Linked DNA regions of Homo sapiens: region 1 is linked to region 2. Evidence: promoter capture Hi-C in human tissues and cell types (Jung and others, 2019). All regions are on one chromosome and are shown on one strand. Each heading gives the region's core, a stretch centred on a gene start or on the middle of the fragment in contact. The rest is flanking DNA. Distances are from core to core; before and after follow the strand shown.

Region 1 (5,274 bases), core at 568-3,067, 280 kb before region 2:
CCTTCAGTTCCAGGTGGTCTGTTTTCCCAATCTACAATGCCTGTTGTAACATCTTATCCCTCTTCCTCTTTCCAATTTCCTCTCCCCTTCCTCTTGACCATTTCCCCTTCTCCTCTCTCCTCCTCCCCAGTAACCCCTCTGCATAAGCACGCTCACATATAGTTCCATAAAGCCAAATCCAAGACTCAATCTTTTATTATATGAGAAAACTAAAAACAAGAGTGAAACATCAGAGATTATTTTCCAACATAATAGAATTTTCATATCAGAAGTATATCTAGCAAATCCCTACGCAAATCTCTGCGTTTGACCATTGAGTCAACAGGCCTGAGGAGCTTTTGTGATTGTCTCCAGTTGATATACAACTAAAGTAGGAATTAAAACCAGGGCTCCCAATACCCAGACATTCTCCACCACCATCTGATGACAGTAACACCTTAGACATGTATAAAGTCTGCACTGTAGAAGCACACTTTCCCATATGGGACTCAGCCTAGGCATTAGGCCAGCTGGCTATGTATGACTCCTATTATTACTTATACAAACAATAAGGCTAAGAAAGTGAGTGTCTTCCATTGGGCCACCTGTCTATTAAGTGGCAGAGGCAGGGCTTGAACTCTGGAGTCTTGGGCCAACTGCTGTCTTCCATTGCATGCTCACACTTGTATTTTAGGGTCAAAGGTGCACACACAAATTTATGCATGGCAACAGAAATGATCTGGTTCAAGTAATAAACTCCTAAGTGTGAAGTTAATGCCATAAAATGATTCTGGGAGAGTCTATTTGCTCAGATGGTGCTTCCTGGCTCAGCCTGGAAGCATCATGGCCAGTCTGGATACATTCACCCAAAGTCTCCTCTTAAATTTAGTACTCTGTCTTTAGGGCCTAAGTATTTCATCTGTTTTATCATCAATCTCATCCTGAAACTCAGGATAGAGCGAGCAGTTGCAGTCTAGGGCAGGAACACCAACAAAGACATGAAATATCTGTCAGAGTCCATGATTCCTTGAGATCCACAATTGTGATAGCATTCAAATGATACTCAAAGCTGTTAGGAGACCTAGGTTGTAACATGCGTTTTTTCCACTTAGTGCTATACATATCATAAATGTTTCCACACCCACAAATCTATTTCCATAATGGGATTTGTAGTAGGTGCATAGGATTCCACCGTAGGTGTGCCCTGTATTGTCTGTAGCCAATCCTGAGTTGTTGAATTAAGGTTGTCTCAGATTTTTTATGTTACTAACAGAAAACCTCAGTAACATCTAAGTCATTAGTTATGACTCCTTTCCTATTTGAAGACAATATGAAAAAGTTGGAGTATAGAAGATCAGATTGATGTAGGCTGACATATAGACCTGTATGGTTTCCTCCAAAACACCTTTTCCCCGGAAAGCTGTTTGTTCAATATTTTGATTGGTGCTGTCTAAAGGGAGCTCTTATTTATGAGAAAAAGAGAAGCTGATTAGTACCCCACTCATGAGCATGCATTTATTTAATTAGTCAGTTATGGAATGTTTATTGAACACTGAGTTATGTCCACTGTGCTAGTCATGTGCTAGGCAAAGATGGCCTAAGACAGATTCAAGCTGGGCGTGGTGGCACATGCCGTAGTCCCAGCTACTTAGGAGGCTGAGGTGGGAGGATTGTTTGAGTTTGGGAGGTTGAGGCTGCACTGAGCTATAATCGTGCCACTGCACTGCAGCCTGGGTAACAAAGCCAGACCTTCTCTCAGAAAAAAAAAAAAGACACTTATATCTCGGTTAAAGCTCGCAATCTGGTGGATGAGGTGCTAGTGTACGTTTCAGTCTTCCCTCCTGGAGAATGAGCTGCCCAAAGGCAAGGATGAAGCTGGTCCCCTCTCTGCTCACCTGGCACCTACTTCAGCAATCTGTTCCTTGGAGTCCAAGATAAACATTTACTGAAGGGATGAGCACATTTAACTTAAAGTGAATGATTGAAGCCACTTATTTTCCAAAATTGAGAAAAGAACACAGGGTTATGTGAGAGGGAAGTAACTCAACTTCTTTCCTGCTTTAGAAGAGCCTGAGGTTGAGACTTACTGGGAATTATACAAGAGCATTTCGTCTCTTGTGTTGGCTTGCTTATTTTTACCTTTTATTTGTTTTGGGTCCCATCCAGTCATGAGATTAGTTACCGGCAACTCAGTTCCTTGTTACTAAAGACTTAAAGATAACTAATAAAAATCTTAACAATATTAACATTAAATGATTGTTAATGTATACACCAGGCATGTTATCTATTACTAGTTCCATTAGCTTTAGTATTCCTAATAACTTTCTTTTATCCATAAAGATTGTCCAAAAGCGAATAATTAGAAGAAAAATTTTATAATTGGCCAACTGAAATTTAAATGACTCCCTGTTTTTTTTTTTTTTCTTTTCCTTTTGAGACGAAGTTTCACTCTTGTTGCCCAGGCTGGAGTGCAATGGCGCAATCTTGGCTCACTGCAACCTTTGCCTCCCAGGTTCAAGTGATTCTCCTGCCTCAGCCTCCTGAGTAGCTGGGATTACAGGTACCCACCACCATGTCCGGCTAATTTTTGAATTTTTAGTAGAGACAGGGTTTTGCCATGTTGGCCAGGCTGGTCTCGAACTCCTGACCTCAGGTGATCCACCCACCTCAGCCTCCCAAAGTGCTGGGATTACAGACATGAGCCACCATGCCTGGCCTGTTTTTTGTTATTTTAAAAGATAGAGTCTCACTCTGTCGCCAAGGCTGGAGTGCAGTGGTGCCTTCATGGCTCATTGCAGCCTCGACCTCCCAAGCTCAAGCAATCCTCCCGCCTCAGCCTCCTGCGTAGCTAGGACTACATGCATGTGCCACCACTCCCGGCTAATTTTTATTTTCATTTTTAGTTTTTGTAGAGATAGGGTCTCACTATGTTGCCCAGGTTGAGAATCCCTGACGTTTTATTCATGTTTTAGAAAAAAGTTTTAAACATCTTCCTTAGGAACAACCTTATAAACGTTTTAATTTTCATTTATAGTGAAAGAAACTTGTCTCTCAAGCTTTCTAAAAGTAATTTTGAGAAGTTACTATAAATAACCTAGTTACAGGGCTGGGTGCAGTGGCTCACACCTGTAATCCCAGCACTTTGGGAGGCCGAGGCATGGGGTGGATCAAAAGGTCAAGAGTTTGAGACCAGCCTGGACAACATGGTGAAACCCCGTCTCTACTAAGAATACAAAAATTAGCCAAGCATGGTGGCATGTGCCTGTAATCCCAGCTACTCGGGAGGCTGAGGCAGGAGAATTGCTTGAACCTGGGGGGTGGAGGTTGCAGTGAGCAGAGGTCATACCACTGCACTCCAGCCTGGGTGACAGAGCAAGACTCTGTCTCAAAAAAACAAACAAACAGAGGAGGAGCCAAGATGGCCGAATAGGAACAGCTCCGGTCTACAGCTCCCAGCGTGAGCGACGCAGAAGACGGTGATTTCTGCATTTCCATCTGAGGTACGCGGTTCATCTCACTAGGGAGTGCCAGACAGTGGGCGCAGGTCAGTGGGTGCGCGCACCGTGCACGAGCCGAAGCAGGGCGAGGCATTGCCTCACTCGGGAAGCGCAAGGGGTCAGGGAGTTCCCTTTCCGAGTCAAAGAAAGGGGTGACGGACGCACCTGGAAAATCGGGTCACTCCCACCCGAATATTGCGCTTTTCAGACCGGCTTAAAAAACGGCGCACCACGAGACTATATCCCACACCTGGCTCGGAGGGTCCCACGCCCACGGAGTCTCGCTGATTGCTAGCACAGCAGTCTGAGATCAAACTGCAAGGCGGCAACGAGGCTGGGGGAGGGGCGCCCGCCATTGCCCAGGCTTGATTAGGTAAACAAAGCAGCTGGGAAGCTCCAACTGGGTGCAGCCCACCACAGCTCAAGGAGGCCTGCCTGCCTCTGTAGGCTCCACCTCTGGGGGCAGGGCACAGACAAACAAAAAGACAGCAGTAACCTCTGCAGACTTAAGTGTCCCTGTCTGACAGCTTTGAAGAGAGCAGTGGTTCTCCCAGCACGCAGCTGGAGATCTGAGAATGGGCAGACTGCCTCCTCAAGTGGGTGCCTGACCCCTGACCCCTGAGCAGCCTAACTGGGAGGCACCCCCCAGCAGGGGCACACTGACACCTCACACGGCAGGGTATTCCAACAGATCTGCAGCTGAGGGTCCTGTCTGTTAGAAGGAAAACTAACAACCAGAAAGGACATCCACACTGAAAAACCATCTGTACATCACCATCATCAAAGACCAAAAGTAGATAAAACCACAAAGATGGGGAAAAAACAGAACAGAAAAACTGGAAACTCTAAAACACAGAGCGCCTCTCCTCCTCCAAAGGAACGCAGTTCCTCACCAGCAACGGAACAAAGCTGGATGGAGAATGATTTTGACGAGCTGAGAGAAGAAGGCTTCAGACGATCAAATTACTCTGAGCTACGGGAGGACATTCAAACCAAAGGCAAAGAAGTTGAAAACTTTGAAAAAAATTTAGAAGAATGTATAACTAGAATAACCAATACAGAGAAGTGCTTAAAGGAGCTGATGGAGCTGAAAACCAAGGCTCGAGAACTACGTGAAGAATGCAGAAGCCTCAGGAGCCGATGCGATCAACTGGAAGAAAGGGTATCAGCGATGGAAGATGAAATGAATGAAATGAAGCGAGAAGGGAAGTTTAGAGAAAAAAGAATAAAAAGAAATGAGCAAAGCCTCCAAGAAATATGGGACTATGTGAAAAGACCAAATCTACGTCTGATTGGTGCACCTGAAAGTGATGTGGAGAATGGAACCAAGTTGGAAAACACTCTGCAGAATATTATCCAGGAGAACTTCCCCAATCTAGCAAGGCAGGCCAACGTTCAGATTCAGGAAATACAGAGAACGCCACAAAGATACTCCTCGAGAAGAGCAACTCCAAGACACATAATTGTCAGATTTAAAGTTGAAATGAAGGAAAAAATGTTAAGGGCAGCCAGAGAGAAAGGTCGGGTTACCCTCAAAGGAAAGCCCATCAGACTAACAGCGGATCTCTCGGCAGAAACCCTACAAGCCAGAAGAGAGTGGGGGCCAATATTCAACATTCATAAAGAAAAGAATTTTCAACCCAGAATTTCATATCCAGCCAAACTAAGCTTCATAAGTGAAGGAGAAATAAAATACTTTATAGACAAGCAAATGCTGAGAGATTTTGTCACCACCAGGCCTGCCCTAAAAGAGCTCCTGAAGGAAGCGCTAAATATGGAAAGGAACAACCGGTACCAG
Region 2 (4,667 bases), core at 7-2,506:
CCTTAAATGCACAGTCACGTGTATACATTTAGTAATACTTTCCTTAGTGCGTAATTTAACTTTAGAAGTGTAACAGGATGGTTTAAATATTTAAAATTATCAAGGTATCTTTGGCACTGTAATCTTACAGTTATAATACATGAAGATACTATAATCATATCATGTGAAATCGACTGTGAAAACACACACCCGTGGAACGTATATACATAATAAATGGACATAAAATTGTGCTTCCACCAAAGACTTTCATTATTTCCTTTAGTAATTTATAATTATACAGTATGTTATTCCACGCCTGTATCAATTAATTATGCAGAAAATGATTCAACCAAATCCGAACTGTTAAGTCCTACTCATTACAAAACAAAAACTAAAGTCCCTACACCAGACTTGATTTTCAAAGAGCTTCTTAAAACAGCTCTGCCCCATGCCCAATAAAGTGAAAGCTGGAAGCAATTATCAAGAAGAAAAACACACTTTAAGACAATTTTCTTTAACACATGTGGACAGGGAACCGAACGCAACGGGAGGCGGAGTGGCATGATTCCGTAAAAGTGGACGCTGAATGGTAAATTTCCCAACCCCCAACCCAAAACAAAGGAAAACTTTAAACATGTTGCGGTTTTCAATCAAACCAAGTAAAGCCAGAAAGGCTCATCCACTCGCCCCACACACCCGCTCCTCTCCCCGCACAGCTGCTACCGGCGTCGGCCGATACACAGACCCCCAGCCTTTAGGACCCAAAGGGGCCGCTTCCCTCGCCCCTACTTCGGCCGTAGGGGCAAAAATAAACCTCTCCTCCCCGTCGCCGGGCGGTCCACACGACCCCAAAGACAAGGGGTGGGGAGTGTCCCCACGCCCCTGGAACCTCAGGTCGGACTTGGGCGGGACCCGGCAGGTCTGGACAGGGCAGAGACCGAGTCAGGGGCGAGCAGGTAGCGCGGGGAACGAGACAAGCCCGCCGGGCGATCCGGGGGAGGGGAGAAGTTTCTTCCCAACTTCCCGACTCGGGCCCGCGGGGGCGGGGAACCGCGGCGGCGGCGGCGGCGGCGGCTCCGGGCGCTGGGGCCTAGCCCTGTCCGGGCAGAGGTGGAACCCTCCGCCCGCGGGGCCCCACCGGGTCCTTACCTGTCCTCCGGCCGCGCTCTCATGAGTCGCTGCTACCGCAGCTCGAGGTGGCGGAGGGCGGAGGCGAGGCCCGCGGGCCCTCTCCCTCCTCCACCTCCTCGTCCCGGGGCGCCCGGCGGCAGCAACGACGGCAGAGCCGGCCCGGGACGCGTTACTTCAGGAGGAGGGAGTTCCCGGGCTCCCCACGCCTCGGCCTCACTCTCCACCTCCTCCGCCCCCCCCCCCCGGCCCCGCCCCCTGACTTCTAGCGGGGGCGGGGGCTGCGGGTACCTGCGCGCGCCGCCGTCCGCTCACCGGAACTCGGGCCACGCCGGCCCGGCTCCGGGGCCCCCAGCCTTCCGGCGCCTACGCCCCCGTCAGGTCCCCTCCGCGGGCTCCGGGCCGCTTTGCTGTGGTCAGGATAGGCGACCGGTCCGTGTCACTTCTCCCGACCCAACATGGCGGCGGGGTCCGGGGCGGATTCCCGGGGGCGGTGCAGGCCGAGGGGGCGTGAGGAGGAGGTGCTTCCCTGCCCGGAGAGCAGGCCCGCGGCGTCCCTTCCCACCCGCGAACCCACCGACGCTCGGCTGCCGCGGAGATTGAATGGAGCGCTCCGATTCTGCCCCTCTGCCTTTCTCTGTTCCTTGGCCCAGCTCTCAGTAGTGGCCAGGGCTTTGGGGCTTGCTTTTGTGGGGGAGGACGGGGTTGAGTTTTTTTGGTTGGCTGTTTGCTTCTCAGCGCTACGCTTCCGCACCCTTTGTCGTTGGTAGTAAAATCTCAAGCCCAACCGCGTGAGCCGGGGGCGTTACTCACACCCTCATCACCATCCTGATCGCCGTCCAAAAAACGTTCACGTCTTGCCTCCTTCCGAGGCAGGGATCCTGTCCCTGCCCCCAGGAGCTTCCTGTTGACTGTAGGTCGAACCAGCCTTGCCGGGAGGGGAACCGAAGCTGAGTTCTGTTTGGCGACTATCCCAGTCATGGTGGCTTTGGCTTATGTTGGGACAGCGTTTTTCTATATGATGCTGGCGGCAGCCCAGTGAGGGAAGTGCAACAAGTATGGTTCTCCTGCTTGTCAACTGTGGAAACAGCGACCCTGAAAGTGGAGGAGCCACAGCTGGAATCGTGTCCGTCTGAATACACGCACCTTTCCTATGAGCCTTGTAAAGCCAGTCGTTGAAGAAGGGGGAGGACCCGGAAGGATGGGGTGGGGGCGTAAAGATGAAGGTTAATCAAGGTCCTCATGGACTGAACCTTGAGGCCCTTCTGCTGCAGTCACTTTTGCCCTATCAGACTTTTAGAGTAACTTCCTCTCTTTATTTCCTCTTTGGTGGGGTTATCAGAATTATTTTGTGACTATTGGTTTCCTTTGCGGTTTTTAGTGAAATTCAGAATCATCTTCGACGGATAGGAAATAGTGCAATCATATGTGTCAGTATTCCGGTATTCTAGGAACTTAAGGAAATGCATATAAGGGTTTGAACATTTTTTTCTTCAGCTCACTAAATGAACGAAAGGTAGGCGTAGGCGTTAAAGAGACACATAATGTGGAACGATGCTGTATTTTCTTAGCTACTAAAACTTCATTTGTCATTGACTGTCTCAGGGCTTTAAAATTTTATGTAGGTCTATATTCAGCTTTTATTAAAATAGAAAATTCCTTGAGCTGTTGCCTTTCTTCACTAAATAGAGATAATTTCGTCTTCCTAAACACTCAGTCTCAAAAATCACCTCTAAAATAGGCCGGGCACAGTGGCTCACACGTGTAACCCCAGCATTCTGGGAGTCCAAGACAGGAGGATCACTTGAGTCTAGGAGTTGGAGACCAGCCTGGGCAACATGGGAGACCTCCTATCTATTTAGTAAAATATATTTTAAAAAATAATAATGAAATGAAATAGTAGTTTGCCCCAGTTTAAGGGGTAAGGTGGCTTTGAAGATGTTCTATATGGAGTTTTAAAGTTGGGAGAGTATGTCAGAATGTCACCTACAAGTTATGGATTACATTGACTTACTGAGTTTGCTTCTCTTCGCCCTCCCTTTTTTTTTTTATTACTACATTCCCTGATTTCTTTTTTAGTATATTCATCAATGTCAAACTTCAGTCTGTAAATAACCTGGAAAGTTTTCAATCTTACATTTAGTGGCTCACTTGTTTCCAGGAATATTTTTTAAAAAATTTTTTAATGAGGAAGAGAAAACTGGAAAGTCTTACTGAGTTTGGTGTAACAAAAATTGCTTTTAATCTGTTCATCCTGAAACGGACAAATAAGCTTGCCCCTACTTTTCCCTCCTGCACAGCATAGAGGTGTGGTATGTACATGTGTGTTAGGGAGTGATAAGGAACTTAAGTCTTGAAACCCCTGGAAATGTCTGCTGGAGGAAAAAGCTAGGGGAAAGCTTTAAACAAACAAACTTTATGAGATATGTTAGGTCCCTATAAAAGTAAAATGCTTTCATTTATGTAAGTTGATTAATGCTTAAAATTATTTGGCTGGAAGTTTGAAAAGCTGAAAGTTGAACTAGGGCCCACTCAGTACCACCTTGGAACCTGTGATTCTACCAGGAAATGTTTTTGTTTAGGGTAAACCTCTCCTACGTGCTATCAGTGATATGCTGCTGCTGCTGCTTCCGCCACTGAGGCTATGATGATTTTCTCTTCCTGGTAACAGTAAAAAAGCCTGCAGCCCTACACAAGGTGCCTCTTTTCTAACAACCATCCCCTCACCACCTTCCTCAAATCCATTCAGTGCCTGACATTGTCTGCACCACCTTAGCTTTGCCGCCTCCACCTGGCCAAGACTGCTCCTATGCCCAGTTAGGAAGAATATGAGAACCCCTCTCTAAGGATTAATTTGGAAGATCAGGAAAAAGGAAGGTATTTCTCCTTGAGTGTTGGGCCTATTGTGCCAAGCTCAGTGGAGAAATGCACCAACTCATCAAGTTCTCAATGCTCCTGATGTCTTCATTGCCTCAAGGACTGTGGTTTCTATATTACAGTTTTATTTCCCCTCAACTGGGAAAAGACTGTCTAAGCGACCTAAGTAAATGTATATTGAGGGCCAGGCGCGGTGGCTTAGCTTGTAATCCTAGCACTTTGGGATGCTGAGGTGGGTGGATCACCTGAGGTCAAGAGTTTGAGACCAGCCTGGCCAACATGTTGAAACCCTGTCTCTACTGAAAAAAAAAAAATACAAAAATTAGCCAGGCATGGTGGCATGCGTCTGTAATCCCAGCCACTCGGGAGGCTGAGGCAGGAGAATTGCTTGAACCCCGGGGGCAGAGGTTGCAGTGAGCTGAGATCATGCCACTTCACTCCAGCCTGGGTGAAAGAGCAAAACTTCGTCTCAAAATAAATAAATAAATAAATAAATAAATGGATATAGAAGGACATATCCTGCAATGAATATTTGTCAATCAAATGTGTCTTGCAATTAATAAATGTCAAACATGGCAATCTTACATGAACTTCAGCAAGTCTGTCTCCATCTTGCTCCCTTTTGTTGCTCTCTCTAGCTTTTCACTTCTTCACTACCTGGTTTACAATCTTAGAATTTAACC

What was found. The method cuts DNA at HindIII sites, captures the fragments that hold promoters and counts their contacts. A contact is called where the count stands out against the background at its distance.
Region 1: a fragment that was not itself captured here is called in contact with the fragment with the promoter of YES1 in region 2 in 1 of the 25 tissues and cell types used here (H1 embryonic stem cells).

Annotation. Positions count from the first base shown.
Region 1 is chr18:532,319-537,592 of GRCh38, forward strand. No RefSeq gene overlaps it. Among named protein-coding and RNA genes, the nearest start is that of LINC01925, 20 kb to the left of the region's middle. RefSeq lists an enhancer at 3,623-4,276. The HindIII fragment of the contact is 4,543 bases long and covers 1-4,089 here.
Region 2 is chr18:810,986-815,652 of GRCh38, forward strand. It overlaps YES1 (YES proto-oncogene 1, Src family tyrosine kinase), which reads right to left and starts at 1,257. Exons shown (of 12, transcript NM_005433.4): 1 at 1,129-1,257. RefSeq lists silencers at 864-953, 1,024-1,083, 1,134-1,643 and enhancers at 1,375-1,917, 1,918-2,459. The HindIII fragment of the contact is 17,179 bases long and covers 1-4,667 here.